2 separate regions of the Homo sapiens genome follow, and region 1 is linked to region 2. Evidence: promoter capture Hi-C in human tissues and cell types (Jung and others, 2019). All regions are on one chromosome and are shown on one strand. Each heading gives the region's core, a stretch centred on a gene start or on the middle of the fragment in contact. The rest is flanking DNA. Distances are from core to core; before and after follow the strand shown. Region 1 overlaps SLC15A5 (solute carrier family 15 member 5). Region 2 holds the start of SLC15A5 (solute carrier family 15 member 5).

Region 1 (4,045 bases), core at 1,095-3,594, 45 kb after region 2:
GAATGATATATTAACACTGAGCAAATTTCCTATCCTGGGAATTTGCCAAAATCATGGATCCAAAGGGAATTTCTCAAGGACTCCATAGAATTTCATACTTAAGGCTGTGAGCTTACATATCAGAAACTCAAACATCACACTACACATAGAAACCCATAGTTTTCTCAGCAAATAAATTTATACCTAAAGAATCTTATACCAATACCTAAAGAATCTTAACATGCCCACTTTTTTAGTATAAGTTCAGCTTCATTATGAAATCACAAGTGCAACCCTAATGTTTCAATAAATTCGGAATGTCTTTTATTTCATTGTAGACTAATTTGGAAAATTATTACATGGTTCAATAATAGCATAAATTATAAGAACTTCAAGACTCTTGTGGACTTGTCTGCAACCACACAGGCAGTATTAAAACACACATTATTTATCTGAATATAATATCTCCTATGCAACCATTGTGCTTTATCTTGTAAGTACAGATCTGCTAGAGGTTTAAAATGTGTACATTCTGATAAACTGCACTCTGCTTTGGGTGTGTTATTATCTCATACAAGTTAAGAATTAAAAATGGAGTGGATTAAATTTAGGTCGGAATCAAAGTTTGCTTTAAATTTTAAGAAAGTTAGTTTTCATTGGCACCAGAGTGCAGTAGCAAATAAGAAGCAAACATAGATCCTTAAATACTCTAAAATATGCTTTGCCCTAAAATACCTAGGTAAGAGTGCTATGGTTTGTATGTTTTTGTTCCCTCCAAAATTCATGTTGAAATTTATCCCCAGTACAACAGTATTGGGAGGTGTTGGTTTTGGGAGGAGAGTGAGTCATCAGTGTTCCACTGTCATAAATGGGATTAGGTGCTCTTATAAAAGGTCTTGATAGAATTCATTTCATTTGCTCTTCTACCTTCTGCCATGTGGAACGTGCCATCTTGGAAGCAGAAAGCAGCCCTCCCCAGACAACCAACCCTACCAGCACCTTGTCCTTGAATTTTCCAGCTTTTAGAACTGTGAGAAAAGAAATTTCTATTCTTTATAAATTACTCAGTCTCACACTTTTTTTGAATAACAGCACAAGCAAACTAAGACAATAAACTAAATATGTGTGCTTTGCTTGAAATTTTCTGGAGAACAGTCTTTCATTGGATTTTGCTAGATCAGGCCTGACAGTGTTATATGCTTGAGCAGTGCTTCTCATAGTTTAATTTGTATAAGAATCATCTAGAGACCTAGTTTAAATGCAGATTCTGAGTCAGTAGTTCCGGAGCAGAGCCTGAGATTCTGCATGTCTAACAAGCCCCCAGGTGATACCTACACTACTGGTCAGGGAGGACACTTTCAGTATCAAAGACAAAGAAAGTGGCCCAAAAGACGGCTCTCTCAAGTTTCATGCATGTGTATAGGCAGCAGTGGCCCAGGTAAAATGCCACAATTTCTCTCTAGGCCAGAACGAAAGTTCAGTAACAGGTAATAAAAGCGGATGACTAAACCAGGGGTTAGCCAATCACTACAGCTCATGGGCCAAATCTGGCCCACCGTCTGTTTTTGTATGACCTGCATGGTAAGAATGGTTTACACAGATGAACATTTGCAACTGATTTGATAATAGAAAACACCTTTAAACTCTAATTAATTGAAATTGCATCACCCTTCCAAAAGAAATAATTTTAAATTTTATCAATTTTAAAAATCATAGAAATTTATTTCTCTCTTGTTACGTAAGTACCTACTTATCCTCAATTTTGTTGTTTTTCTCACAAAGTCTGAAGTACTTATTACTGGCCTTTTACAGAGAAAAAAAATAGTGATGCTTGTCTAAACTTTTGCTGGTAATGCCATAAACTTTCCTTCATAAAATATAAGCATTTTTACATAGCACAAGTAACAATCAAAAAAATAAAAGTGCATGATAGTTGTAAAATCTAAATTACCTCAAATTAGTCAGGATAAGGGGTATCTTAGAAGGTACTCACAGAATTCAAATTCTGAAAGAAAACCAAAGAAAGCAACTTAAATTACTGTTGAGAGGTCTAGTGCTTTTCTTCCTTTCTTTCTTTCTCCTTCCTTCCCTCCCTCCCTCCCTCTCTTTCTTCTTTCTTTCTTTCCTTCTTTCTTTCTTCCTCTCTCTCTCTCTTTCTTTTTTTCTTTTTTAGACAGAGTCTAGCTCTGTAGCTCAGGCTAAAGTGCAGTGGCATGATCTTGGCTCACTGCAACCTCCACCTCCTTGGTTCAAGCAATTCTTGTGCCTCAGCCTCCCGAGTAGCTGGGATTACAGTTATGTGCCACCACACCCAGTTAATTTTGGTATTTTTAGTAGAGATGGGGTTATGTCATGTTGCCCAGGCTGGTCTTGAACTCCTGGCCTCAAGTGATCCTCCCACCTCGGCCTCCCAAAGTGCTGGGATTACAGCTACAAGCTGCTGCACCTGGCCAGAAGTCCATTGCTTTTCTGATGCTTATCCTTGTGTTACAATCTTTTTTTCCTAAACGGAAAGCTCTTCTCTCTTTCCATGGTGTTCTAAAATTTCATCTTATTGTACTTTGGTAAAGGTCTTTTTCAACCATTGTACTTTTGACCCAGGTGGGCTCTTTCAATTAGAAAAATTTTATTTTTAAAAAAAGTTTCCTTTCTTCCATTTTCTTTGTATTTCCTTTTGAACTCCTATTGATCAGATGTTGGACCTTCCTAAAATAACTCAGTAAGTCTCAATATTTTCTCTTCAAATCTATAAATGTGTTTGTTTGATTTTTATTGTTATTGCCTTTTTTGGTTTGTTGTTTCTCTATTTGTTTTGGAAATTTCTTTGACTTCATCCTGCAAATTTTCTGCTGAGTTTTGTATTTCAGAAGTCATATTTGGTTTCTAAGATTTCTTATTATTCTTTTTTCATAGCTACTTATTATTGATTGCATTAACTACAGATTACCCCCACTTCCTGTTTGCTTGTCTCCTTGTTTTTCACATGGGAAGCTTTTCTCCAATGTCTGGTGATCTTGGGATATCTATTCTTATAGATTGTAAAATAATAGTATTACTCAGGATGATATGACTTTGTACATAAGTGAGACTTATGGGGTTTCTCTGTAGAATGCCATTTGGCAAGGGAACCAGTCATATTATTATGAGAATCTCCCCCCAGCTATTATATGCAGCAATCTTTTAATGGAGTTATTCAGCTTATTGAGAGAAGATTTCTTCAGCCTCCTGCTTTGAGGCATACTTCCTAGTGCTGAAGGTGAGGTGTGGCTGTGTGCAGATAGGAATGGAGGATGTCTCATCATTCAAAATCTTAGTTTTTACCCATTTTCCATTTTCAGCCTCAGCCTTCTCTGAATCCAAAGTCACACCTATTTAAATTCTGAAAAGTAATCTCCAGTCTCTTACCAGAGGAGGAGATGGAACACATACTCACCTTGTTTCATGGGGATAGAATTGGAGACTTGACAATTTCACTGTTCAGTGCACAGACTTTCAACCAGTCCTTGCAGTTTTCCTTCTGAGTGTTACCCCACCTTCTGAAATACCTGGTGCCTTCAAGTCATGAGCTTCTAAATGATTCCTCAGGGGATTAGGAGGATTAGGGTCATGCTTCTTCAGTCTCTCACTCAGCTGTCAGTTTAGATTGTAGCTCCCTCATTTATTTTTCTAAATCAGTTATCACTTCTCTTTCCAATTTCTACATTTTTTTCAATTTTTGTCCACCATTGTTTTCTCTTTCTCTGACTTTTTACCTTTTCCAAATTTCTTTGCCATCATTTAACTAGAATGAGAAAGAAAATTAAAATTGTGTGGTCAATCAGCCACCTTAACTGGAAGTCCCTAAACTGCTCTAGATATTGGAATGTAGATAAAAATCTTCTTTTAGTGGAATAGGATCTTAAAAGTATTCTAAATCTGCATAGTTTTTTCCAACTTTCTTTTCCAACTTGCAAAGAATTTGCACCATTATGCACTATCTAATACCAAATTTTGTACAAAAGATACTTGAGAATTTTTAAGGTAAAGTGACTGGCCCACAGTTACGTAACTAATAAGAATCATACTG
Region 2 (3,896 bases), core at 47-2,546:
CAGTCCCAGTTTATAACTGTTTTTTTTTTTTGGGGAGTAACCATAAATAGCATCACTTTTCACCTGCACAAAACTGTCCAAGTTTGGATCATAAATTGCATGATCAATTTACACAAAGGAAATTTAGGGCATCGTTACCAAAGTAGCAATGCTGAGCAGAGACAAATAGCTACCATTACAATGAGGCTATTAGAAGGGGTCAAAACAGAGTATTTTGCCCCCAGTCTCTCACAACCAAAAGATGATAACCAGAGTCAAAAGTCCCTATTGGTCTTTAGGTTTTGACTACAGCATGAAAATAACATTCCTATACTCAAGTGTTGAATTATTATGACTTTGACCCAATAGTTCCGGTCCCTTTTCTTCCTATGTCCTTGCAGCTAAGCCACTAAATGTTAAGGTGTTCTCTTTCACTGCTGCTTTTTTAGCTTAATTGGCCCTCCTGCTTTCCAAAATAGAATGCTAACACCCATTCACCCAGCTGAAGGGTCAGGGTGATACCAGATCCAATATTCCCCAAAGCCTGTGTAGGCTGGTTGCTGTATCCCTGACTACTGATTAATAATAAAGGAGTTAAATAGCACCTTTTGATTCTGATTTCCTCTGAGAGGCTGTTCTACAAGCATGGGGTCAACTAAAAGGAAGCAGGGTTTCGTTTAATATTTTCTCCTTTCATTAGTGCACTTAAATTACTTTCTTGTAAACTCTGCTTGTTACCTAAATGTACTAGCACTTTTGTTACCTAATTAAGTTTCTTATCAGAATTCCAACCAAAAATAACAAGAAATGTAATAATGATAAGATATCGTGCCCTTCAAAACAGATTTCCTTTTGCGCTTTATCTCTTGGTACTGTTCTGGCTTGTTTAATTAAAGTATCAGAAATTATTAGACTCAAATTATTTCTTGATCTAGTGCTCAAATTCTCCCGAAAACCTGCTTCTTCTGCCTCAATATTTAAACCTTTATCAGTATGAGGCAGATGAGTTTCCACATGTTTGCAACTGGATTCATGTAATTCAATACAATTTTGGAGGACGATCCTAATTTAGCCGCTAAGTAATTAAGCAAACAAATCAGATTTGGGTACACTGAGCTACTGTGAACATTTAAATACTCATGCTCTTGGATCATCAAAAGGAACAACGTCCATGTGCAAAAAACAAACCTTATGAAATTCTAGCATGGAGATGTGAAATTCAAAGCAACGTTCTTATTTTTTTCATCAGAGGGATGGGGCTCAAAATATCACCAAGTTCAAACCACTAACATAAGTTTTGTTCAAGGAGGGTAGTCATGTCTGTTACAGGCTTTACCATAACTGATGAGAAAGTACACTTATATCACAGCATTGAGAAGGAGAAAACTGTAAGACATATTGGCGATTTGTGTTCCTCACACTCTGTGAAAAAAATTCAGGTTGGAATCTGCTTGCTTCTGGTGGAGCTGTGTGAGAGGTTCACGTTCTTTGAAGTCGTCTGCAACATGATCCCCTTTTGCACTATCAAGCTTGGCTATCACAATTGCCAAGCAGCCATCTTAAACTTGTGTTTTATTGGAACTTCAATACTTACCCCTGTGTTTGTCAGATGGCTCACTGATGTCTATTTAGGAAGAAACAAACTGGTGTACATTTGCTTGTTTCTACATTTTCTAGGTGAGTGTCCTCTGCTGACTGGATTGTTTTGTGACTTAATTAAGTAGATTTTTGTTAGAATTTTTAGTTTATATTATTTTCACTCTGCTCTTAGCATAAAATGTGATAAATGAAGTAAGAATGTGGGTTCAATGTATTTCATTCTTTGTACTATTTGAAGAATGCTAGTAAGTCTGTGTGTGTGTGTGTGTGTGTTAGAGAATGTTTTGTGCCTATATCATTGCATTTATATTTTATAATAATTACTCCTTTACATATCTATCTTACTCCTTAGAATGCCCTCCTTTCCCAAAACCTTTTTACCTCAAGCCTAAATTCATGACAAATTCCCTCAGAAATGTGAAATGTATTTGCTTCACAACTAAGATGAAATGTGCTAAAAAAGGTTTTTGAAGTTCATGTAAAATAATTGAGAAATGTTTTTATCCAAAGGTGGTCTTTTAATTAGTCATATAGTAATTAAGATTGCATATGATGGCATGATTTCTATATTTTTAACTATGATTATATGCTTTAGAAATGAGTAAATTAGACACTATAGTGTGCATCTTTACATATATACTAATATATATCTGCAAAAGTTTGGGACCGATTGTGAGAAATGCTGGGAAAATATCAAGATAGTTTAATAAGAAATAGAGAGCAACTTGAAGAACAGACTAGAATTTTAAACTGAAAAGTTCAAGTTATTCTTCTTAAGCAACAAGAAGTCTCTGAAAATATCATGAAAACAACATTTGAGAAATGCTATTCTGCAATACAGGATGGACAACCACAGTGAGGAATTAAATAGAGAGAGATCAGAAAATCTCAGGATGATGGTTTAAGCAATAAAGTGCCAATTCAGGAGAGAACAAGTGAAAAGCTGTAAGGCAACTAAATAAAGGTACAAATGTGATGGGGGTCAAAAATTAGCTCCAAGTTTCTGATCTGAGCAACTTGGGAATATAGCATGCTGTTCACCAATAATGAGAAGTGCAGCTGAAATGAGTATTGGTAGGGGGACAGATGAGAAAGAGATGGATAGATATCAGGTACTCAACATATCACACAATCTCAGGCAGGTGGTAAATTACCATTCAGAGAATCCATTGGAGTTTAAGTCAAACCTGGAAACTTCACAGCTTTAGTTCTGTGGAATAAAAACTAGGTCACTGCATGGCAAATAATCACTCAACATTCAACAAATATTTCTTATTGACTACTCTGTACCAGACATTATTCTGGGTCTGGAAATGCAATAGAGAAGAAAGTCGTCTGTTCCTGCTAAAGTTGACTTTTTGGTGCAGGGAGAGAGAAAATAAAAGAGGAAATAGATATGATGTCATGTGGCAATGAGTTAGGATGGAAAAATAAAGCTGGGTAGGGGGACAGGATGGAATGGATGGTGATGAGGCTGCTACTTGGTACCGAGAAAAAGTTTTCTGATAAGAAGACATTTAAGCAAATCCCAGACTAACTTACTCTGCTTACCTTGGTAACAGGCCACACCAGTAGCATTTGTTGACTTCTTGTTTAACATGGTAATTTCTATCAGTCTAAATTCTGAGGTCAGTCATCAGACAGGATGGAAATCCCAACTTTGGAATCTGGCAAACAAAAGACTTAAGTCAACTCTACATCCATTCATTTTTTTACTAAAAGTTATTTCTTTGTTGCCCTCCACTTACAGCTGCCATCAAATTCCAACTGTCACTAAATTTCAGAGGTTATATATAAGAAAGGTCTTCTGTCTGAATTGCTACTACCCTAGCTGAAAAAATGCAGCTTTCTTCTTTTTAACCATTCCAATGGCCTACTTACTCGGCTGCCAGTTCTCAGTCAGTCTCCAGCTTGTACTCCATTCTACCAACAACACTGACTTCCTGAACAAATAAATCTCTATATTGCTTCTATTATCTAAAAAATGAAATCCAAACTTATTAATTTAGCATACAACAACCTTACCAACCTATTCTAAGTTCACCTCTCTAGACTTGTTGTTCAACACGCAACCCCAACCTTGCTAACTTCTCCTGGCCTCCTTCCCTAGTTTTCTAATCTTGTACATGCTCTTCTCTCTTTCTGAAATTGTCACCTTCCCTTATCTTTCCATCCCTTATCCATGATTGGAAAACTCCTGCTATTCTTTCAAGAACCAAATAGTGTTTGTTGCTAGCTTCTCTGTGTTCAACCACACCCATATAATACTTATACGATTGCATCCATCACTTTATAATATAATTGTCCACCTGCATGGC

What was found. Contacts are between HindIII fragments. The study calls those that stand out against the background at their distance.
Region 1: a fragment that was not itself captured here is called in contact with the fragment with the promoter of SLC15A5 in region 2 in 2 of the 25 tissues and cell types used here (heart left ventricle and neural progenitor cells).

Annotation. Positions count from the first base shown.
Region 1 is chr12:16,231,020-16,235,064 of GRCh38, reverse strand. All of the region lies in intron 5 of SLC15A5 (solute carrier family 15 member 5), which reads left to right. It overlaps LOC101928362 (a long non-coding RNA gene), which reads right to left. Exons shown (of 11, transcript XR_001749028.1): 3 at 1,931-1,984. Among named protein-coding and RNA genes, the nearest start is that of SLC15A5, 45 kb to the left of the region's middle. The HindIII fragment of the contact is 8,576 bases long and covers 1-4,045 here.
Region 2 is chr12:16,275,085-16,278,980 of GRCh38, reverse strand. SLC15A5 (solute carrier family 15 member 5) reads left to right here and starts at 1,296. Exons shown (of 9, transcript NM_001170798.1): 1 at 1,296-1,656. The coding sequence starts at 1,296. LOC101928362 (a long non-coding RNA gene) reads right to left here. Exons shown (of 11, transcript XR_001749028.1): 10 at 3,130-3,245; 11 at 2,456-2,788. The HindIII fragment of the contact is 12,619 bases long and covers 1-3,630 here.